Linked DNA regions of Homo sapiens: all the other regions are linked to region 1. Evidence: promoter capture Hi-C in human tissues and cell types (Jung and others, 2019). All regions are on one chromosome and are shown on one strand. The core of a region is centred on a gene start or on the middle of the fragment in contact, and the rest is flanking DNA. Distances in the headings are between cores, read along the strand shown. Region 1 holds the start of SLC6A1 (solute carrier family 6 member 1). Region 2 has its middle 26 kb from the start of SLC6A1-AS1. Region 3 has its middle 34 kb from the start of SLC6A1. Region 4 overlaps SLC6A11 (solute carrier family 6 member 11).

Evidence for each region. The method cuts DNA at HindIII sites, captures the fragments that hold promoters and counts their contacts. A contact is called where the count stands out against the background at its distance.
Region 2: a contact is called between a fragment that was not itself captured here and the fragment with the promoter of SLC6A1 in region 1, in 1 of the 25 tissues and cell types used here (dorsolateral prefrontal cortex).
Region 3: a contact is called between a fragment that was not itself captured here and the fragment with the promoter of SLC6A1 in region 1, in 1 of the 25 tissues and cell types used here (spleen).
Region 4: a contact is called between a fragment that was not itself captured here and the fragment with the promoter of SLC6A1 in region 1, in 1 of the 25 tissues and cell types used here (pancreas).

What each region holds. Positions count from the first base shown.
Region 1 is chr3:10,991,373-10,996,828 of GRCh38, reverse strand. It overlaps SLC6A1 (solute carrier family 6 member 1), which reads right to left and starts at 4,081. Exons shown (of 16, transcript NM_003042.4): 1 at 3,900-4,081. RefSeq lists an enhancer at 3,237-3,761. The HindIII fragment of the contact is 17,540 bases long and covers 231-5,456 here.
Region 2 is chr3:11,041,946-11,047,535 of GRCh38, reverse strand. No RefSeq gene overlaps it. Among named protein-coding and RNA genes, the nearest start is that of SLC6A1-AS1, 26 kb to the right of the region's middle. RefSeq lists a silencer at 1,639-1,933. The HindIII fragment of the contact is 4,784 bases long and covers 488-5,271 here.
Region 3 is chr3:10,956,263-10,961,945 of GRCh38, reverse strand. No RefSeq gene overlaps it. Among named protein-coding and RNA genes, the nearest start is that of SLC6A1, 34 kb to the left of the region's middle. The HindIII fragment of the contact is 3,231 bases long and covers 646-3,876 here.
Region 4 is chr3:10,939,222-10,945,114 of GRCh38, reverse strand. It overlaps SLC6A11 (solute carrier family 6 member 11), which reads right to left. Exons shown (of 14, transcript NM_014229.3): 14 at 4,401-5,893. Among named protein-coding and RNA genes, the nearest start is that of SLC6A1, 51 kb to the left of the region's middle. The HindIII fragment of the contact is 8,537 bases long and covers 1-5,893 here.

The DNA of each region.
Region 1 (5,456 bases), core at 2,832-5,331:
TAAACTGTGCAGCTCCTTAACTGGGGTGGAGGCAGCGGGGGGCGCTCATGGTCATTGCCAAGTAAGCAGTGTCAGGGGCTTTTAGTGGCAGAGATTTAAGCATGCTGTGACTGAGTTTGGGCTTTAAGGCTATTTACCAGCCCAGTGATCCTGCAGCAAGTGCTTTAGCCCCTCTCCTCCTCAGTTTCCTCACCCTGACAGGGATCATTATGCTACGTATCTCACAGGGTTTTGTGAAAATTAACTGCAACGATATAAAGCACACAGCACAGTCCCTGGCATATTGCCAACATGCAGTAACTGACAGTTATTACTGTTTTTGATACAATTGCATTGGAACAATATTTAGTGTTTTCTTTCTTTTCTGTTTATGACTGAATTCCAGGTCTCTGCTGAAATATCACAGCTTGCATTCACACCTACTGCCTATGCCAGGCAACTCTCCTGTCTGCTACTGGCCCACTTCCCACTGACTCCATAGCCCCTTCCCCTGACCCCAGAGGTCTTAGGTGAGCATGGAGTAGATGAAGATGCTGGATGTTAATATGCTCACTGAGACCCATTTCCTGGGAAGTCCTATTTTGGGGTGCACATCTGGCCTCCCAATCTTTTCTTTTTCAAGCACCAACCTCTTCCCCTCCATCTCCCAGTGCCCTTCAGAGAATGGGGTAAAGTTGGCAAGAAGAGCCACCCGTGCAGGGCCTGTCTGAGAAGCCAGCATCGAGGCATGCCAAGCCACAGAGCAGTGGACACAGGATGATCTTTTCACCTTGTGGGGGAAGTGCCCAATGCTCTTGGCAACTGAAGTCAATTCGAGGTTGCTGTCATTCAGCGGGGCTATACCCTGCCCACCATTCTCCAGGCACAGAGAAGCTCAGGCGACGTTGCATGGGTGAATTGAAGGGGTAGTCCCGACACAGGCATAGACAGGCCTGCTGACGCTTGCATTTTAGTTTTCATTTGGGCAGAGAGGGGATGAAGTGGCTCTAACTGGGTTTGGCATTGGGGCTGTGGCTGAGGAGAGGGGCTGCTGGGGCGGGGGTGGTAGTCAAGGGGAAGGTGGGCACATTTTGGGCTAGGCAACAGGGATGGGCTTCTAAGGACAAAGGAGATGGACTTCAGGATGCAGGTGGCTAAAGGTGGTGGCAAGGCTGAATCAACGGTCATTAACACTCTGCCTGAGACCCATAGACAAGCAAGAGGGTGGAAAAGACATCTCCAAATTCCAAGTAGCATGGAACTCTATCTCAGCTGCTGAGCTCACAGCCAAGCCAAGGAATGGAGTCTTTGTGTGATGGCAAGAAGTGGCCTGATATTGGTGCTTTATTTATTTCATGGTGCTCTCCACATGTCATATGCCACCAAGGTAGAGGACCAGCCACTGCTCCCATGGCAGGCCCACGGGAACTACCACCCCATCACTTCACTTTACAGATGGAAAAACCGAGGCCCAGAGACCCACAATAGGACAGAGTTGGCCTGGAAATTAGAACAGTAGGGTTAAGATCCCTGCCCTTCCTCCTCCTGGCTATGTGACCTTTGACAAGTCACTTCCCCTCTCTGCATCCAGTTTCATCGCCTCTGAAGTGGGGATTAGAATAGTGCCTGCTCCACACGGTTCTTGTAGGAATAATCCCTGGCACATTGGAAGCTTTGGGTACTCCATTCCTTCCTTCCAACAGGAACAAGAACGTACCCAAGGTCACCTGGCCAGAAATGGCAATGCCCCAGCTCAAAGCAAACCCTCATCTGGGGCTCGTTCATTCCCGGCTATGGACTAAGGGGCCACATTTTATAGCCTTCCTGGCTCAGTGAGACAGGTACAGATTGCAGGTAGGTCCATGCCAGTGATAGCATCACCTTCCATCCATGCAGGCTTTATTCTAAGAGGTTTATTGAGGTCCTGCTGTGTGCTGGGCCACGTGTAAAAAAATTTATAGCCTCTGCTGCTCCGGGGTCACCAGGCATGTAAAATCCGTGGCAGGCAGGAGAGACGTGGCCACTGTGCATCTTTTGGCTTCGATGGACTTGATTTTGCCTCATCTTTACCCTCTAAGCTACCTACTCCTTGGTCTCCAGACATCCTTCCCAGCCCCATCTAAGTTCCTGGAGACCCACTTCTCATCAAGCCTCCAGACCTGAAATAAAGTGTCCCACATCAGGACAGAGGGTCCCTGATTTTACCTCCAGAGTGGCTGCCTCTCTCCTGTGTGTTCCTAGGGGAACCCCACTTTCCAGATGCTCTGCCAGACAGGCCGGGCTGCGTCTCTCTGCTTGGGACTCACTGTTTGTCCTCCAAGGACTGGCCACTGAGCCAGTGCTTGGCTGGAGACAGAGCTCTTTCTTTGTTTGCTGCCTGCCTGACGATTTATTTCTGAGGCTCAAGGGAGGCTCAGCCATTTTGCCAGGGCTGCTCTGGGAAAAGGTCTGTCCCACTCCCCCAGGGACTCCCACTTCTAAGGGCAAGTTCTTTTTCCCCTTCTCTGCCTTGGAGAGGGTCTGTCCTGCCCCAATCAGACCCTGATCTGGAGCTGGGTCAGTCCTTCCCAATGTGCTCCAAAGATAAAGAGATAACATGCAAAATGCGAGTAGCTTTCACTGACCTCTTTTGTTTTGGAATTTGGGGGACTGGGGTAGCAGCCTTTTTGGCTCCCTTAGGAGGACACTTCCCCCAAAGTTCCCAAAGACACAGAATCTAGGCACTATCCAGCACCCAACATCCCTACTCTCTTGCCAAACACCCACCTTGTGTGTCATAGAAAAACAAAGGTAGACCCCCAATGCCACTCAGTCTGATACCGTCTCTGATTTTTGGGGTGTCACAAATCTCAGGAGCCATTTTATTCCCGCCCTCCCCGCCCCCCCAGCTCTTCATGGGGATAAGGCTGAGCTTCCTGGGAAAGGGAATGAGCGCTCCAGCCCCACATCCGGAAAGAACGTGGTGTTATCATTTGGCTTTTAAAAAATTCTCCTTGTGGTTCATGTCTATTTTGGGAGGATATTAGCTCAGAGCCTCAATAGGGGACTGCCCGGTCTGAGTTTCTTGTCTGAAGACCGAGCCAAGCCTAGAACAGGACATCTGTGGGTGCCACCCGTGGGGACGTGTGCTCAGAACCCAATGGGCACTGCCCGAGGCTACCGTGGTGAGCGGTGTCGCGCCGGGGAGTACACGCAGAGACCAAAAGCAAGAAGGGGAGCGCAGTTCCCGAAGCAGCAAGGAGGCACCGTCCTCCAGCCCTCTAAGGGACCGCCCGCACCCCACATCTCTTGGAGAAAGTCGGGGCTGGGAGAGCGCGGCGCGAGCTCTGGTGCACTAGGCTTAGCTCCGGTGCACTCAGCCCAAGCCCCGGTGTGCTTTTAAGCCAACGTTTCTGAGAGCTCGGGCTGTCCCAGAGACGTCCCATCCTCAAGTCGCACCCGACCCCGCCGTAGCCCGCAGAGAACAAATGAGGGGCATAGCTCTAACTCGGCTCAGCTGACCCCAGGATTGGGAAAGTGGCGCACGGCCCCCCAACGCTGCTCGTGTCATTCACTCCGCGTCCCCTCCATGCCCTGGGGAATGAATAGGGAGCTTCGACGGCTCCAGCAGAATCCAGTGCCAACTTGCGGGGCCAGTGGGGCACCGCGGGAGGGAAGGGGCATGCAACTCTCGCCTCTGTTCCAGCCCTCCTGCCTCCCGAGTGTCCCAGGGGACGGATGGCCTGGGCGCACGTCGGGGTCCGAGCGGCGCCTCTGCTCCTTCATGTGGCTCAGGGAAGGTGCGGCGCGGGGGCTTGAATCTCGAGGTGTCCGCCCCCCACCCGGCCCGGCTCGCGGCAGCGGCTCGGGGCTCTGGCCGTTCCTGCGCCGTTATCCCAGGCTCTGCGCCCCGCGCCCCGACGCCGGCCGCCCTTTCCTACCTGCGGCCGGGGCTGCGCTGCCCGGGACAGGCGCTGCATCCGGGCGGCTCGGCCGCTCCGATGCGCTCGGGACGCGGGGCCGCTCGGGCTCGGGCTCAGCGCTACTGCGCTCCCGACTCCTCGGCTCCTGGGCTCAGCGCAGCTCACCCGCAACCTCTCCGCTGTCTCGGTCTTCCGAGGGCGGGCGGAGGGTCGCGGGGAAGGGAGAGGAGGGGGGAGCGAGTCCGGAGGGATGGAGGGGGAGGGCAGGGCCCGCGGCGCCCGGAGCCCGCCCAGCTCGGGTATAGCCCTGCCCGCACCGCCCGCCCCCGCCCAGCGCTCCCCCAGGCCCGCCGCGCGCTCCCTCCGCAGCTGCCTCTTGCAGCTTCGCCGCCAGCAGGCTCTCTCCTTTTCCCTTCACCTCCTCTCCCCTTCTACGCCTCCCCTCTCCCTTCTTTCCTCTCGCATTCTCCCGCTCTCTTCTCCCTCCTTCTCCCCTCTCTTCCTCCCTCTTTCTCCCCTCTCTTCCTCCCTCCCTCTCCCCACCCCCTCCTTCCCTCGCCTGCCCCGCCGTCCCGCTCCAATCTCTCTCCTTCCTTCTCCTTCCTTTGATGGCTCTTTCCGGCCTCATCCTGGGTCACCAGCCTGTCTGCCTGTCCGTCTTGGTCTCTGTCTCCCTGTCTTTCACAGCAAGCACTCCCCTCCTGGCTTTTCTCCTTCCAGCCTTGCAGTACTGCTTCCGTTGGCCTGTCCTTTCCGTTTCTCTCTGCGGTCGTCCTCTTTTCGCCCTCTGTGGGTCGCTGTGGGTTGGGGTGGGCCCGTGCCCCCTCCCTGCTCTAGTCCTAGGGCAGCGTCTGCTGCCCGTTACACCTGGAAACACAGGCCTGGCCTGGGGTGACCAGGCTCTGGGTACCAGCTGGGAGTGTGTGTAAGAGTGGGGGTGGGAAGGACACCCTTCCACTGCCAGCGGTTGGTCATGGAGACACAAGTGGCTGTGTGTATGGATGGACAGATGGGGAAACAGATTACTTAAAAGGGAAACAGGGATGGTGGCAGGAGCCCCAGACACCCTTCTCTCAGTTCTTGAGGTTTGAGGGATTCTCCCAGAGAAGTCCCCTTTCCAGCCAATCCCAATCCAGCACGTAGGGACTCCTTCCCTTGTCCTTGCCAAGGCCTGACCTCCCCACCCTCTTTTATAAAGGCTTCTGGGAATGGGGCCACATCTGCCCTTCCCTCTGGGGTCCCCAGGAACTCAGAGAAAAGATTCCTTCTCTCCAGCCCAGACCTACTCTTCCCCTCCTCTCTTTGTCCCCAGGGATGGCCTTTGCTGATGGACCTCAGGTCCTCTACCCCACCTAATCTGGCCTCCTCCCTGCTTTCATCCATCCTCGAGTCCCCCAGGGCAGTGCTCACCAAGGTCACCCTGACTTCTTCTGTTTCCCCACACTCTCACTCATGAGCAGGGAATCTTGGTGTCTTTCTTGACCCATTCACCTCCCACCACTGATCACCAGGTCATATGTGCTGTGGACTTCCGTTGGTATTTCAAATAAATATTTCCCGAGTTCCACCTGTGTG
Region 2 (5,590 bases), core at 1,630-4,129, 52 kb before region 1:
CAACAACCTTCAGCTCCCAAGAAGCTCATAGGCCAGGGTGGGAGGACCACAGTGCCAAGGAGCCTTGGAGCACAGGAGGGTGCCCAGCACATCCTGGGTAGGCTCCCGGGAGGTGACTTCTCAGCTGGGACCTGAGGAGAAGTTTACCAGGAGAAGAGGGGCAATGACAGGGATGGGAGTGTGTGAGTGGGGACGGGTCCTGGTGAAAGCTAGAGCCTGCTCCACCATCCCCCTCCCCACCGTAGGAACCTGTTCCAAACCTGTACCTTTCTCATCAAATAAAGGTGATACCCAGCTTCTTCCTAGATTGTTTGTGTGTTTAAAATAATTCCAGACTTAGAAGTTGTAAAACTCAGCTGGGCACAGTGGCTCATGCCTGTAATCACAGCACTTTGGGAGGCTGAAGTCGGTGGATCACTTGAGGTCAGGAGTTTGAGACCAGCCTGGACAACATGGCGAAACCCCATCTCTACTAAAAATACAAAAATTAGCCAAGTGGGATGGTGCACATCTGTAGTTCCAGCTACTCGGGAGGCTGAGGCAGGAGAATTGCTTGAACCTGGGAGATGGAGGTTGCAATGAGCCCAGATTGTGCTACTGCACTCCAGCCTGGGCAAAAGAACAAGACCCCATCTCTAAATAAATAAATAAATAAATAAATAGAAGTTACAAAACTCATATAAAGAGTTTCTGTATACTCTTCACCCAGATTCCCCAAATGTTATTTTCCACATTTGCTGGCTTTATCATTCTCTCTTATGCTCTCTCTCCACACACATATTATATATGTATATACTGTATTGTTATTATTTTTTTTCAGACAGAGTCTCACTCTGTTGCCCAGGCTGGAGTGCAGTGGCACAATCTCAGCTCACTGCAACCTCTGCCTCCCAGGTTTAAGCGATTCTCCTGCCTCAGCCTCCTGAGAAGCTGGGATTACAGGCACCCACCACCATACCCGGCTAATTTTTGTATTTTTAGTAGAGACGGAGTTTCACCATATTGGCCAGGCTAGTCTTGAACTCCTGACCTCAGGTGATCCACCCACCTGGGCCTCCTAAAGTGCTGGGATTACAGGTGTGAGCCACTGTGCCCAGCCTATATTGTATTTTTTTTTCTGAGTCATTTAAGAATAAGTTGTAGACAAGTTTCCCCTTTAGCCTGAATACTTCAGCATACATTTCCTAAATAAATGACATTCTTTTACATAACCACAGTGTATTGATCAAAATCATGTAATTATCATCCATACAATATTATTATCTCATCTACATATCTTATTCAAATTTCATCTATTGTTTCACTAATGTCCTTTACGGCAAGAGAAAAAAATTTCTGGGCCAGGTTCCATTTCCGGATAAAATTGCATTCTGTTGTCATGTCTTTAATCTGAACAATTCCTTGGTCTTTGTCTCTTATGACCTTGACATTTTTCAAGAGCATAGGCCAGTTGCTTTGTATACTATTCCTCAATTTTGGTTCCAGGATTGCTTTTAACAGTATTTCTTGATGTGATGTGTGGATGACTTTCTCCACTAGAAGGGCTTGAGGTGCTTATTAGAATGTAATTTCTGGGCACCAGCCTAGACTTCCTGCATCAGAGTGTCTGGGATGGGGTCTAGGGATCAGCTTTCTGCCCAGCACACTCTCTGATTCTTATGTGCACTGCTGGGTTAAAGCTTTCTTTTTCTGAAGATGCCGCTAAGGATTTGTGCATGGGGCTTCTGGGCCGGTGTTTCCTGGCATGGTCCTTGTAAATTCAGTCTGTGCATTTTACCCTGAAGCCCCTGCAGGCCTACGAGGTCAGTGCAGGCCCTTGCCTCCAGAGGGGTTGGCAGAAGATGTGGGGCTAATTTCTGAAGCTAAAAACACCTTTGCAAAAATTGTAGTAGTAAGGGAAATCGAACATACCTGACTTCATCTTGCTTCTACCAGGCTAGTTTGCTTTTGCTCATTCTTGTGCGGAGGCCATAGCAGCCCCTTCCTGGAGCTGTTCCCTTCTTTGTTTGGAAATTGCAATCGTATCTGTAAAGACTAACAAAAGGTAACAAGGTTAGAATGATGCTAGAGGCCTACAACTTCGCTAAAGAATAGGTTGAACTATAACCATCCATTGCTTGTTTAGTTTGCTTTTCTATATGTTGCTTACTGCCCCAGAGTCACATAACTGGAGGTCGTGATATTTGTAACTTCCCCAACTGCTCCTATGGATAACTTCACTATTGTGAAACCTAAAAGACTGGTCTTTGAGATGTTTTTCAGATTTAGCATTTCAGGAGATCAAGAGATGCCACATGATCCTGAAATCCCCTCCCAGGAACTGACTCAGCTGTTCAAAGACAGTTTAGAGACCCCTGTGATTTTGTCCCCAGCCAATCAATTGTTTCAGTTTCCCAGCCCTCTGCCTGCTGTTTTCAAGTACACTTAAAAACCCTAGCTTCTGAATTCTTGGGGAGGCAGATTTGAAAAACATCTCCCATCCTTTTGTTTAGTTACCTTGTGATAATTAAACCCTTTCTCTACAGCAACACTGCTGTCTCAATGTTCTGGCTTCATCTTGCAGTGGGCAAGAAGAACCCCTTTGGGCTGTAACAAGACTCCAGCAGGAAAGGGGCAGAAGCCCCTCATATTGATGCCATGGGCTTTTCCTGATCCCCCTCTTGCCTTAACTCTGCCTGGTCTTAGATCTTTGCCTTATACCCTGTGCCATGTTTGTGACCATGGAGGCCACTGTGCTATAGTGGAAGGATCTGGGCTCAGGGTCCAGTCCTGTGACTTTCAGCTCTGTGGCTTTGTGAGAAAGTTGTTTTCCCTCTCTGAGCCTGAGGAAATTCATCTATAAACGTGCATTAGTCCTTTTTGTGCTGCTATCAAGGAATATTTGAGACTGGGTAATTTATAAAGAAAAGAGGTTTATTTGGCTCACAGTTCTGCAGGCTGTACAAGAAGCATAGTGCCAGCATCTTCTCGGTTTCTGATGAGGCCTCAGGAAGCTTTTACTCATGGTGGAAGGGAAGGGGAGTCAGTGTGTCATATGAGAGAGGGAGAGAGAGAGATGCCAGGTTCTTTTAAACAACCAGCTCTTGTGCAAACTCATTACCATGGGGAGGGCACCAAGCCATTCATGAGACATCTGCCCCCATGACCCAAACACCTCCCACTAGGCCCACCTCCAACATTTGGGATCACATTTCAACATGAGATTTGGAGGAGATGAACATGCACACCATATCAAAATGCCAGTAATTACCTGCAATGTTCTGTAGGTTTGTGGTGAGGAGTAAACAGTATTCCACGAGAAAGTGCCGGGCACACAGAAGGCATTCAGGAAATAAGGATATCTTTTCCTTGCCTCCACATTCCTGTAATTTGGAGAACTGCTGTGGGGAGTACAGTAGGCTAGTGGCCCCCAGTTGCAGTGCCTTTGGGATGTCCCACAGTGTTGAGCCAAGTTTACACTGTCCCTGGCAGCACTGAGTGCATAGTGGAGTTAATAGGGCCTGGACATTTCTTCAATGTGGAACTCTTCAAAGCACAGCCTTTGCAGTGGGGATTCCTGGCGGGCTGGCTGAGACTGTCCCAGCGCTGCACTGCAGTCTATGGTTCTTCCCACACATGACTCCTTCCTTCTCCTGTTGTCCAGCCATCAATGTGGCTGGGTGTCTTCCTGCCTGGCCCTGCCCTTTCTCCCCTGTGTCATTTAAGGGTGTTTACCCCAATAGCTAGAAGAAAAAATCTGAAATGTTCCCAACACAAAGAAATGATAAACATTTGAGGCTATGGACATCTTAAATGCCCTGATTTGATCGTTATACATTGTATGCATGTATCAGAATATCACATGTACCCTATAAATATGTGCAATTATTATACATCAATACAAAATTTCAAGGTGTTTACCCACAGGTCCATTTTGCTGCTACATTTGTCTTGGCATCTGCTTCTTGGCGGACCTGAACTGACACCAACCTCAAGTAAAACACCAAGACATTCTCTTTGACAGTATCAGGTGAAACATCAGTAAACACATCACTGGAACCCTTGATTTCTCCTTCGCTCATGTTAGGATATTATTAGAGTTGTCTGTCATGGTTGGTCTCCTCACCCATGTCCCATTAGCATTTTTTGGTGAAAGAAGATTTTCCTCCAAAAGCAAAATATACAAAGTCCTTAATTTTATGTGCATTATAATGAGATGCCTTGTCAGTAAATTGTCCTTCTCCACATTGACAAGCCCACGTGACTTTGTATACCTTTTTGTTTTGTTTTGTTTTGTTTTTTTTTAGAGATAGGGTCTCCTTCTGTTGCCCAGGCTGGCACGCAATGGTGCAATCACAGGTCACTGCAACCTTGAACTCCTGGGTTCAAGCCATCCTCCTGCCTCAGCTTCCTGAATAGCTAGTACTACAGGCATGTACCATCATGCCTGGCTAACTTTTTAAATTTTTTCTGTGCAGATGGGTCCTTGCTATGTTGCTTAGGTGGGTCTTGCTTGAACTCCTGGTCTTAACAACCCTCCTGCTTTGGCCTCCCAAAGTGCTGCGATTACAGGCATGTGCCAATGTGCCTAGCCATGACTTTGTGTATTTAAAAATATAGTTTATTATGTATTTCCTATTATAAAAATAATGCTTGTATCTGACACAGACAGAAGTGCTGGATGTCAGAGTGCAGGCACGGCGGGAGCCAGTGTGCACAAAAATGAAGATGGAAAAGGGACTTCAGTGTTATGGCTGGAGCACTGACATGAAGGGTCAGCCATACCCCATGGGGTGGTCCCAAGGGAGAAGTGAGAAAAATCTTGTGGGGTGGTTGGTACAGAGCCTCAAACTTAGTAGGGCCTGAATGAATAGTTGTTATCATTATCACTGTTGTCATGAACTGCCACTACTTCAACACCTGCCTTCTCTGAGCAGCCCTGACCGTGGCTCAGTGAGCCTGAAGGGTGTGCCAGGGAAGATTCCACGAGGATCATAAAAGGGCTGGTTTGTGAGGACAGAGAGAAGAGTAAGCAGCTGGTGCTATTGTGCGGTCACAGAAAGTCACAGAATGGCTCAATATGAGAGTTTCCTATGTACCAGGCCCTGTTCTAAACACTTGACACTTACTAAGCCATGAATCCTCAGCCCTGAGTGGAAGATGCAATTGCTCTCACATTTCCACCCAAGAGAGGGGCTACACTAGCACAGGGTTGGAAAAGGGGATGGCTGAAAATGTTTTCCTAGCCTTTGGCTCAAACTGTAAAAGGTTTGGAAGTAAGAAGCCAGGAACTAGAAAACAGAAAGACTTCCTTGGGAGAAGAGATTATCTATCTATCTATCTATCTATCTATCTATCTATCTATCTATCTATCTAGATTATCTATCATCTATCTATCATCTATCTATATCTATCTACACACATACATGTGCATATGCATATATCTATACATATAGATATACATACACATGTACATACGCATATACATATACATGTACATACACATACACATATACCTATCCATATACATCCTGTGATTTATTTTCAACATACATAAGATAGTGTTAATATCCTCAATATATTAAAAATAACTCTTCCAAACAAATAAGAC
Region 3 (5,683 bases), core at 1,012-3,511, 33 kb after region 1:
AAGTGCCTAGGTGAAGCTGATGGGCCCCTCTTCCCGCATGGGCATCACTTTCCATGGCTCTGAAACATTCTGTGCCCAGGGCCCATGGTTTCTCCTAACACTTGGCTCCTGGGTTCTGCAAACTCATGGCAAACTATTCCCACAGCCCACAGCATTTCTTTTTTCCTTTTGGTTTTAATTTTTTAAAAAATATCTCTTTTTTATTTAAGAGAGAAGGTCTTACTCTGTCACCCAGGCTGGAGGGTAGTGGCGTGATCACAGCCACTGCACTGCAACCTCAAATTCCTGGGCTTGAGTGATCCTCCCACCCCAGCCTCCTGAGTAGCTGGGACTATAGGTGCACACCACCATGCCTGATTAATTTTTTCAAAAATTATTTTTTGTAGAGACAGGGCCTGATTATGTTGCCCAGGCTGGTCTCGAACTCCAGGCAGTTCTCCCACCTCAGCCTCCCGAAGTGTTGGTATTACAGGTACGAGCCACTTTGTCCACCCTAATTTTTAAAAAATTTTTTTGATAAATATTTTTTCTTTTTTATACTGTCATTGAATAGGTAGGCTCGTGACTTATTAATAATTCACGGGAATGACTTCATTTACCTTTGACAGTTCCATAATGCTTCTGACAGTTATACACTTTATTTTTGTCTCTGAGGGTGGGAGGGGCTCAGGCACCCACCCATAGCTGCCTTCCCCAATGTTCTGCTTATGAGCGGTGGGTGCACCTGTGGCAGGGCGAAGGGGAGGCCCCCAGGAACTCACCTTCCACCTTGCATCAAGGACAAGGGGCTGACCAGCACCACCAAAGGGACAGTAATGGGGGAAGGTGGGAGTCTGGGTCCATAGTCTCTGACTCCCATTTCATGTCATCTTAGCTATAATCATAGTCCTCCTTTAGAGCCACTTCCTCTGTGACAGATGCTGGGCTTTATAAAAGTATTTTGTGCTCATTTTTCCCCCTGACACCCAGTAGAATCCTGAGGAGGAGAAATCAATGGCCCATTTTACAGACTAGGATACTGAAACTTAGAGATATCAAGGCCCTTTCCCAAAGCCTGTGAGTAATGGATCCAGGATTTGAACTTCAAGTCTACATAAAGCCCCCTCCCCTGCCACACTCCACTACCCCATCTATAGAGTGGGGTCTTAATCCCTACCTCCTGGTTGTGGGGACAAGAGGAGATGACATCTGTGAACACTTGGTACCAGTAACTGAGGTCCTTTCTTCCCTCTCTCCTACTTAGTCCATCCCCTTGAGAGCATCTCTGTTTCCTCATGCCCCCATCTGCTCTCCCTGGGATTGACTGGCCAGGCCTGCAGTGCAAAAAGGTGATCTGCAGGCCTCTCACTCAGGCAGAGGGCACCTTGGATCCCCTCTGCCTAATCGTAGTTGTGGCTGGATTGTCTGAGCGCCCATAGGCCATGTGGGGCCATAGTCTGGAGGTTGAGCAAAACGCATGCACATGCACACGTGGGCCCACACATTCAGACACATGTTCTTGCACGTGCACGGGGCATGAGCATGCATGTGTGAAACTGTGTGTGGATAGACCCTGGCCCCTGGCCTCTGCATCATCACACACTGCTCTGGGGCAGACAGAAGGCAAGTGGTGGGAGGAACCTGGAGGATGAGGAAGGGATTTGGACTGAAGTTGGGGGAAGAAGAGGCCCTGAGGCTGGCAGGGAGGGTGAGGCCACCTAGGGAGCATCCAGACTTCCCCTAATACCTGTGTCATCCATGCCACAGGTCACGGTCACAAAGATCCAACCCACTCATGGGGCCGACAAAAGAACCAAGACCCAAAGGACGGCATTGGCCTGTGCAGGGCCACACTGTGTGGGCATGGCAGAGCCAGCACTAGGACCCAGGCTTCTACACCAGACACAGGTTCCCCTGACATCAGAATCTCAGACAAGGACTGGCTTGAGGTAGTTCGTGTGAGAGGTGTGAGAGGTGACACCTGAGAATAGGAGTGAGGGAGCCAGAAGAGTGAGGCAGGGAGAGAGAAGCCAATACAAGGCCGTGCAATCCAGGCTGCCATGGTAGCAACAGGGACGTGAATCTGCCAGGATCTTTGAGGGGCATACAGAAGCCCTTCCACAATTGCCCATCAGCTCCAGTCCCCCATTTCTCAAGGGGTGCAAGGAACGGGGTGCTAACTTCCCTGGACTTCTGAGTTGCACGTGCACGGGGCCCCAGTGAGCTCTGTGGGTGCCCCCCACCGACCCGCCACCACATATAGGCAAAGACTCTGGCACGCCCTTGAGCATAATCTGTGAGTGCAAAGGAAGAGCCTGCATAGACAGCTGTGGTGAGATCAGAGCGGTCAAGAGCAGAGGTGCCAAATGCATTCCAGCAGCAAAACACACCTGTATTTCCATCTGCTTTCATTAGGTAACTGCCCGATAATTCAGCTCACCTGAGCTCCCTGCCCCGGCAGGATTGTTCACTCTTCATAGGAACACAGCAGTCTCCCCTTATTTGTGGGGGATACTTTCCAAGACCCCCAGTGGATGCCTGAAGCCAAAGATAGTACCAAACTCTATATGTGTTATGATTTTTCCTATCCATACAGACGTATGATGAAGCTTAATTTATCAGTTAGGTACAGTAAGAGATTAACAATAACAATAAAATAGGATAATTATAACAATATGCTGTAGTCAAAGTTATGAGAATGTCTTTCTCCCTCTCAAAATTTCTTATCGTATATAATATTTTCACACTGCAGTTGAAGGTGACGGAAACTGCAAAACGTGAAAGTGTAGATAAGGGGGGAACTACAATAGCAGCTAATACTCAGTAAGTCCCTGATATGTGCCAAGCCCTGCTCTAGTCACTTTATTTGTATGAACTCATTTAAACCTTCCTACAGCCCTGGGAGGTCAGTACTGTTATTATTGTTTCAATTTTACAGATGAGAAAACTGAGACCCAGCCAGTAAGTGGCAATGGTTGGATACAAACCTGGCTCCAGAGCCTGAGGCTCTACTTCCCCTTTTATGAGATCCCAAATTCTAAGTTGCCCACCCCCAGAAGGAGTCCTGGGACATTTCTACCTCAGTAGGACATGGCCAGCCGCTGGCTCAGGTCACTTCCTGGGGAGGGTTATTGGGAAGAGCACGTCCCTGGCACTTATGGGAGAATAGGCTCCCTGGCCCTCAGGACCTGTAGGTGTCCCTTCTAACCCCTCAGGCCTGCCGTGGGGCCACTCTCTGCAGGCCCCTCCTGGCTTTCTCCCTCTGCCTCTGGCCACCCATCCGTGGCTGATGGGAATAGGTGCTCATGTCCTGGAGATGTGGGCACAGGAACTCTTGAGCAATAGCTGTCTAGATCAAGTGGCCTCCATGGCTCAATTTCCAGCAGCTGTGGAAGGAGAGCTGCTGGGTCACAAATAGCTGGGAAGCTCGCCAAGCCACAAGTGCCACTGATTGCTTCTGAATGCCCCACTCCCTAGAGCTCAAGGCCAGCTCCCCTCAGCCCACTTGGGCAGTGGCCAAGGCTTATCAAGTGGGTAGATGTTGTGGGTGAGGCAGTGTGGTGTGCTGGGGCCCCTGGCCTCCCTCCCTGGCTGGTTGACTTGGGGTCCAGCACCCTCCCTGAGACCCCTCTGGTGAGCAAAGAGCTTAGACTAAGCCAGGTGTCCTCCACTCAGGGTCCTGGATCATGGAGCGGGTGAGAACCTGTACTGGGATCGTCAGTCCCCTTGTTGGTGAGCCTGGAGCTCGTGCGTCTGCCTCCCTGCTGGATTGAGGGCCCCACACGCAGCGAGATGCTCAATAGACATGTGGTGAGTAAGTTCACACATCGTTCTCGATTATCACCGTGAACGGCTTGCACTGGTGACAGCTTGTTCTGCCGAGGCTCTGTTTCAAACATCGATGCACGATGCACGTAACCTCACATAAGCCTAGGAGGTGAGCACCTCCATTTCACAGATGAAGAAAGTGCTGGAAATAAGGCAGAGTCCTGTCCCAAATCACACAGCCAGGAGGGCAGAGCCAGGATTCCTGCCCAGGTCTGGCTGCATCCCAAGCCTAGCTTGTGGCCTCTGTTGCACTAGAATAATAGGCATCGCTGCTACTGATTACGGGGTGTTCCTCTCCACAAGCCCCAAGTTAGGATTTGTGTAGGCACCATCTCATTGAACCATTGTATGGGTCAGGAAACAGAGGCTTGGAAGAAATGGAGCCAATTGCACAAGACCATGAAGCCTGGAACTGGGGAAGCTGGGTTTGGAACTGCATCTGGTGGTCCTAAAGCCTGTACTGTTTTGACCACCACATTGCTCCCCTATCCCCACATCAGCCCCACTGCAAATCAAGTCAGGACGGTGGGTGGGAAATACCCCTAGAACATCCAACGCAAACCAGAAGGCCCTCCCCTGCAGCCCCCATGGTCTGTACTTGAGTGTTCAAGCCTCCTTCTCCCTAGACTGGCAAGAGGTAGAAAACAGGGTCAAAGGCCCGAGCAGGATGGGAGAGAATGCAAGATGATAGTCCCATGGCCAGCGGGCCTGTGGGCAGGAGGGACTGGAAATGGGTTAGTGTCCAGGGCAGTGCTGACCCACTTTGGGGCTTGTTTCCTCTCCGTAAGCCTTTTTCAGGTCCCTCCTCCCCTTCCTGTCAGAATGGGGGAGTCAGCTTCTCCCCCACCCACATGGGAGCCAGGGACACTGGGAGGATCTTTCCCTCCTGCTTCTGCATCTGCTGGGCAGAGCATGTGCCTGACACCCTCAGTCGCGGCCAAAGTGACCTGCCTGAGAGATTCCAGCACGCTCATCTGAGCAAGGACAAGGAGCAGCTTGCTGGCCCTGGAAATTATCTGGGGAGCTATTATGAGCCCGTGTTTTCTGTCTACACATCCACAAGACGGGTGTGCCTCAGAGACAGCTGTGAAAATGCCTGCCATTGATTAAGCACTCACTATGTGCTGGGAACTTGGCATACCTTGTAAAGATTCCTTGCAACGGATGGAGGGATCAGTGTTATATTCAATCTCCCCTGAAAGATGAGGAGAGGGAGGCTCAGAGAGGTTAAGCGAGTTGCCTAGGATCACACAGTGAGTCTACTAGGATTTAAGCCTGGGGCCTTCTACTTCCAGAGCCCCAGGTTTTTCTTCTGTCCTTTGCTGAGGCTTGCTGTGGTTCCTGGTCACAAGGAAGCTTGTTAAAAATACAGAATTCTCTGGGAGATTTGGAACGGGCAAGTAAGGGATGGGCGTGGGAGTCTGGATTTTTTGGAAGTTTCTGGTGGGATAAGCTGTGATGCCTATTCTAGTGTAACAGAGGCCACAAAGCCAGGCTTGGGGGTGGCCAGGCCCGGGCAGGAGTCCTGGCAGCAGCCTCATTTTAAGGAGGAACCAATGTGAATGTAGAAGGTAAATTCAGGGTGTGGGGTCCTAGTAACTGGGACCAGGTGTCCTCCTGTCCTTGCCTGGGTTAAATTCCCAGGATTAGGGAACATAAAGGCAGAAATGCCTGGAACATGAGGGAATTTGTTCTGTGGGCGCCAGACCTCCTTTAAGCTGTCCACGTTCAATCTCAGCAGGTTTGAACCTCCGTTGAGAGTCTGCCGGGGGCTGCATGCTGGGAGAGGCTGTGGGTCAGGCTAAGGCAGCGAGGAGATGTTTTTGCAGCTGCTGTTTTGAACGCTGGCTGAGGCCCCATCTGGCCAGAGGACTCA
Region 4 (5,893 bases), core at 1,825-4,324, 51 kb after region 1:
GGAGTTCTGGCCTGGCTTTTCCATCTATGGCAGCTGGGCATCCGGCCCCTTTATTCGTGTTGGCTCCAGCTCCCCCATCTCTGCGCCCCGCTGTAAGAGCATTTCTGAGCTACCCTCCTCCCCTTTCCTCAAGGCTACATCCTGCATATTGCTCCCCCAGGCAGGGCCCCCCAAGGTGACCCCAAGTACTCCCTAGGACTCTGGATGACTAAAATACCCCCCAGTCATGACCAAGAGCCCTGATATTTTTTATAACTCTTGATGGCTCTCAGCACCTCTTAATGCTCCCCAATGAGCCTCCTTTTTTTTTTCAGTAGCCGTTATGACTCTCATATACTCCTGTCACTCCCAGTCTCTCGTAACTCCCAAATGGCTCCACATAATTCTACTGGGTCTCCAGGCCCTCTCCCCTTGCAACATCTCTTTCAGGTCTCTGGGGGTTCCCAGGTACTTCCAATGCCTCTCACTGGCTTTAACATCCCCTTGTCTTTATCAGTGAACTCTCATGGCCTTCTATCGTTTTCTGGGAAATTGTGAAGGTTTCCAGAGGTCCCTAGTGTCACCAAAGGCATTCCAAGGCCCCTGAAGACCCTCAGACCTTCCCCACATGGCCTCCACCACCATCCATAGCTTCTCTATGGCCTTGAGTAACCTCTCAATGCTGATGGCTGTGGTGACACTCAGTGGCTCCCAACAGTGCTGTGATGGTCAATTTCATGTGTCACCTTGACTGAGCTAAGGAATGTGCAGATAGCTGGTACACATTGTTCCTCGCGTCTCTGTGAGGGTGTTTCCGGAAGAAATTAGCAGTTGAATCAGTAGACCTAGTAAACAAGACCTGCCCTCACCAAGGCAGACAGGCGTCATCCAATCCTTTGAGGACCCAAGTACAACAAAAAGGTGAAGGGAAAATTTTTCTCTGCTTGAACTGGGACATCCATCTTCTCCTGCCATTGCACGTCAGTGCTCTTGGCTCTCAAACCTTTGGGTTTGGACTGGAACTACACTGTTGACTTTCCCGGGTCTCCATGTTGCTGATAGTAAATCATGGGACTTCTCAGCCTCCATAATTGCATGAGCCAATGCTTTATAATAAGTCTCTTTCTATATATTTTTATCCAATGTTTAGAGAAGTTTCTCTAGAGAAGCCTGACTACTACAGGTGGTCGGTGGAAAGTGCATGGGCCTTGGCGCCAGACACACCTGGGCTGTTACCCCGGCTCTACCACTTTCCAGCTCTGTGACCTTGGGTAGCTGAATCTACCTCTCTGAGCCTGTTTCCTCATTCCTGGTAGAATGTGAACACCATGCCAACTTACAAGGCAGTTGAGGGCAAGGTAATGCATAGGAAAGTGTCTGGTATGGTCTCCAGCACTGAGTAGGTCTTCAATGCCTATGTATTCCTTTTCCCATGGCTCCCCACTCTGGGGCAAGCTGGGCACTTGTTCATCCAAGCTCCTGTCCTGTGGGGGGACCAGCATCAGATGCCATTCCATGATAAGCATGGTGTTACCTGATCTTGCTCTGCCAGAGAGATTGGTGAAGATACATGAGGGGTTATAGAAAGTAGACTGGGGTGAAACCCTGTCTCTACAAAAAAAAAAAACAAAACTGGGCAGGGTGGCACACACCTGTTGTCCCAGCTACTCAGGAGGCTGAGGTGGGAGGATCACCTGAGCCCAGAAAGTGGAGGCTGCAGTGAATGGGGAGTACCCTGGTTCCCTGCTCTCCCAAAGCCTCTGTCATCACTCGGGATGTTCCCTCATCTCAAATGTCCTTCTCTGCCTAAGTCTTCCCATCCCCCAAGGTGCAACTCAAGTCCCACATCCTTGGTTAAGTGGCTGGGCACATGGGCCTTATTTAGATCCAGCAAACCTGGATCCAAACCCAGCTCCTCCACTTGCCAGGAGGTGTAATTTGTATCTCTTAGAGCACATTATTTACAGTTCTGAACTCTAGTTTTCTCCTATGAAAAATGGGATTAATGACAATTACCTCTTAGATTTGTTGTGAGGCTCTGATGAGGTAATGCAGGCACGACCCTGGAACGCAGCAGGTGCTCCATAAACAGTTCTTATTCCTGCCTGCAGTACTTCCCCAGCACTCAGTCCATGGCACATCCTGCCATATGGTTTCCTGTGAAGTGGCTCTGACACTTGAGCCACGCTGGATGCTCAGAGAGTGCTGCATGTGTTACTCTTTCCAGTATCCCTCACAAAGTGGGCATTATTTAAAAATGAGAGAGAAGTGGCCAGAGTTGGCAACAAAGGCTGACTTTTCTCCCTAATGGGTAATGAGGGGCCCAAGCTCATTTGCTTTTTAACGGCTTGAGATGGTGCAGGGGACTGATTATGAGATGGGAATACAGAGTTCTAGGGGAATCTTGGGCAAATCACATTCCCTCTCTGGGTCTCATTTCTTTGCCATTCTACCAGTGGCTAACCGAGGCCCAAGGAGTGGGCAGACTTGCTCACTGCCACACTGAAGAACTCTAACTGGCTGGAAGACGGCTAGGAACAGGAGGTCAGAATCAGAACAGCATCTCCCTGTGAACTTACTCCTGTCCAGAAGCGTATGGACACCTCTCCTCCTAAGAGTAGGAACACTCCAGGGAAGGGGCTGTTAGTCCTGAGTCCACACAAAGAATATGGTGGCTGCTCAGTAAAGGGCTGCTGAATGCATGAAAGAACTCAATTTTCCAAAGTTGGCCACTTTCAGCAGAATATGCCTGCTCTTTGGTGCCTGATCCCCTCCCCCATGGGAAATGCTGTTAGGCCTGAGGTAGCCTTGACTTCACTGCCAAAGCTCCTTTCCCCTTCTCTGGTTATTGGCAGTGTCTAGTAGAGGCAGCCTGCAGTGTCCCACTTGGCCAGCAGGGGTCACTAGCACACACTGCAGCCTGGAGGGGTCTAGTGCGTCAATTAATTCCTCATGCTATTAATTCTATAGGCTCAAGAGTCTGCAAATGAAGTTTCCTGGGAATGAGTGAAACTCATATTTCTGTGACTCAGCCTCCTCTTGCATATGACAGCTGCTTAATGCAAGACACTTTCAGACATGAGGAGGGAAGATGGCAGGGAACAGGTGACTGCAGCAATCCCTGTGGCTCTGTGAGGGTAGGAATTACTCAGGGACCCTGGCTGTGGATCACAGAGACTTTCTGAATTCCAGAAGTCTGTGGGATGCTTTCCTACGAGCAGATATTACCACCTCAGAGAGGATCAAAGGCCAAGACAGGGTCAGGTAGACTTGAGATCAGGGATTTCAAGCAAAAAGTTGACCAGACAGGAATGAGTAGACACTGCATAAGATGATCTTACTGTCATGAGCTGGCAGGACAAAACATGCCTGTGGTCTAGAGTAGCCATTTAGAAATATCAGACACAAATTTAGAGGCTTTAGTCTAAGTTCTAGGCAATACTACAAACACTTTTTGAGCTTAGGCATTATTTATTCAGGATAATAACTAGTGTGAATTCAGAACCTTACCATTCACACACAGAGCTCACGGGATCTTCATGATCCCGTGATGCCTGCATTACCTCATCAGAGTTAGACCCTGTATTTGAAACAGGAGCTATTATCCCCATTTTGGAGATGAGAAAACTGAGGCTGGCAAGGGCAGATCCTGGAGCCTAACTCAGGGCTGCATACTCCAAATCCTCATCTCTCTGTGCTCTGCCTTGCCTGCCTCAAACATGAGTGTCTGCCTACTAGGACACAAGCATAAGTTTTGTGGCAGCTATTTTCACCACTGTGAGGGGGCTGTTGCTTTATTTAGGCCTCATAGCACGAGAAACAATAAGGCATTGTGGTCAGGAGACAGGGCTTTTGGGTCAGACACACCTGAGTTCTCTTTCTGGTCCTGATGTTTACTAGCTGTGTTACCGTGGGCAAATTGCTTGACTTTTCTGTGCCGCAAAATCCCCTATCTGTAAGGAGGACGGAGAAGAGGCGGCTGGGGACAGAGAAGGGCCTTAGAAGAAAACCAGGCCCCACTGTGGCTCCTTCTCATGGGAGGCTGGAGGAAGGTCTTAGAACATAGATCCTGGCTGGGGTGGCTGCAAGAATAGATGGCTATCTGTAAAACAGGGGAAGTAATAAAGAAATAAAGCAATACATAAATAAAGTGGAGAAGTACCTACTTTACAGAGTTGTTGTAAGGATTAAAAAGACAACTTCTGTAAAGCATCTAGCACATACTAGGCAAATGGTAAATACATGAACCTAAAGAAGTCTGGGCTCCTAAAACACCACTGCTTTTGTTTCTAATTTGTAGTGCTGAGTTGAGACTGCAGCTTCCACACAGGGACCCAAGATGGTTTTGCAGGCATATCATGGAGGGAATAAAACCAGGACAAAAAACCCAACGAATACCACCTTGCTAGGAATAGCCACACTGATTGTTCATTTCTTTAATTTTTAAAAATGAGTAAGCAGACAATCTTGCACCCTTTGAATGCCCAATAAAAATGTTCATTATGCAAAACAGTACAACCTTTTTCATTTTTTAATAATACTGTAAATATCTCAGAAAGGATGTATTGTTTCTAATGAATATCAAAAAAGTCATCACAATGACATGTTCCCCTGCCCCCACATTGCCCTCCCCACCCCCAAAGTTACCCAAATACTAGTAGGAAATTACAAAAAACAAAAAGCAACAATCCACCCTCCGCCCTGCCCCATGAGTAGTGTTAAGTGAGTCAAGCGTTAGCCACATTACGACGTGTGTGTGTGTCGGCGATGGCGGACCACAGGGATCTGTGGAGAACCGGTAGCAGCAGCAATGGGAAGCCTCCTTGCCTGGGGCCTGCTGGGAAGACAGCAGCCGAGGATAAACACAAGCAGGGCCCCAGCCTGGCCCTTCCTGGGTCCGCAGAACCAGACAGCTCAGGGAGACGAGAGTGGGATGGTGGCTTGCCCATAAGAAGCTGGGCAGGCCTGAACTGTGTGCACAGAGGGGGCCCAGGCTAGGCTTCCCGTCCTGCCCAGTGGGGCACTGGGCATCCCTCTTAGTAGACACAGGCTTCAGATCAGGGCTGGCCAGAGCAGAGATGCTGGGGGTTTGCAGACTTTTGGGTGAATCAAAAACAGAGGACCCTTACAGGAAACTCAGGCCTTGGTTTGGAGAAAGCCCACGTTTCCACCAAATAATATTGGGAACCTAAGGAAAAAGGAAAAAAGAGTGTGCCTTCCCCACCCTCATATAGCTCAGAAACCAAGGCAGAGGCTTGATATGAAGTCCAATTAAAGAAGAAGAGCGGTATCAGCCAGAGAGGTCTGCAGCCAGGCTGGCTGGGGAACAGCACCAGACTCCAGGCCCCACGGAGAGAGGAGCCAGCAGGATGCCCAGGTCTTCCCTCTAGTGAGAGCTGAGACTTCTGTCTGCCAAAGATGGGAGGGAAGGTGGCCGGGAACAGGTGACTGCACCTGTAGCCTTGCGCCTGGCCACTGAGGCAGGTAGAATGGCTCCTGAACCAGGGGCAAGGATGGGAGAGAACTGAGAGGGAGGATGGTGGTAGGTGGAGGTTAGGGGACAGGAGGAGGGAGAAGAGGTGGCCTGGGACAGAGAAGGGCCTTAGGAGGAAACCAGGCCCCCTGTGGCTGCTTCTCATGGAAGGCCGGAGGAAGGTCCTAAGACATAGACCCTGGCTGAGATGGCTGCAAGAATAGATGGCTGCTTCCCCACCCAGAAAATCAGTCCCCACAGCAACTCCAGCCAGCCCTGCCAAGGGTGGAGAGGCAGAGCCGGCGCTAAGAGCAGCTGACCAGGAAAAAAAGGCAGGCCAGACAGAGGAGCCCCTGCCATGGGGGCTGAGGACCCACTGGTGTCCAGAGAGCAGGGCTGCCCACAGATGAGATGAAATTAGAGTTTTAGGGAAAACACACA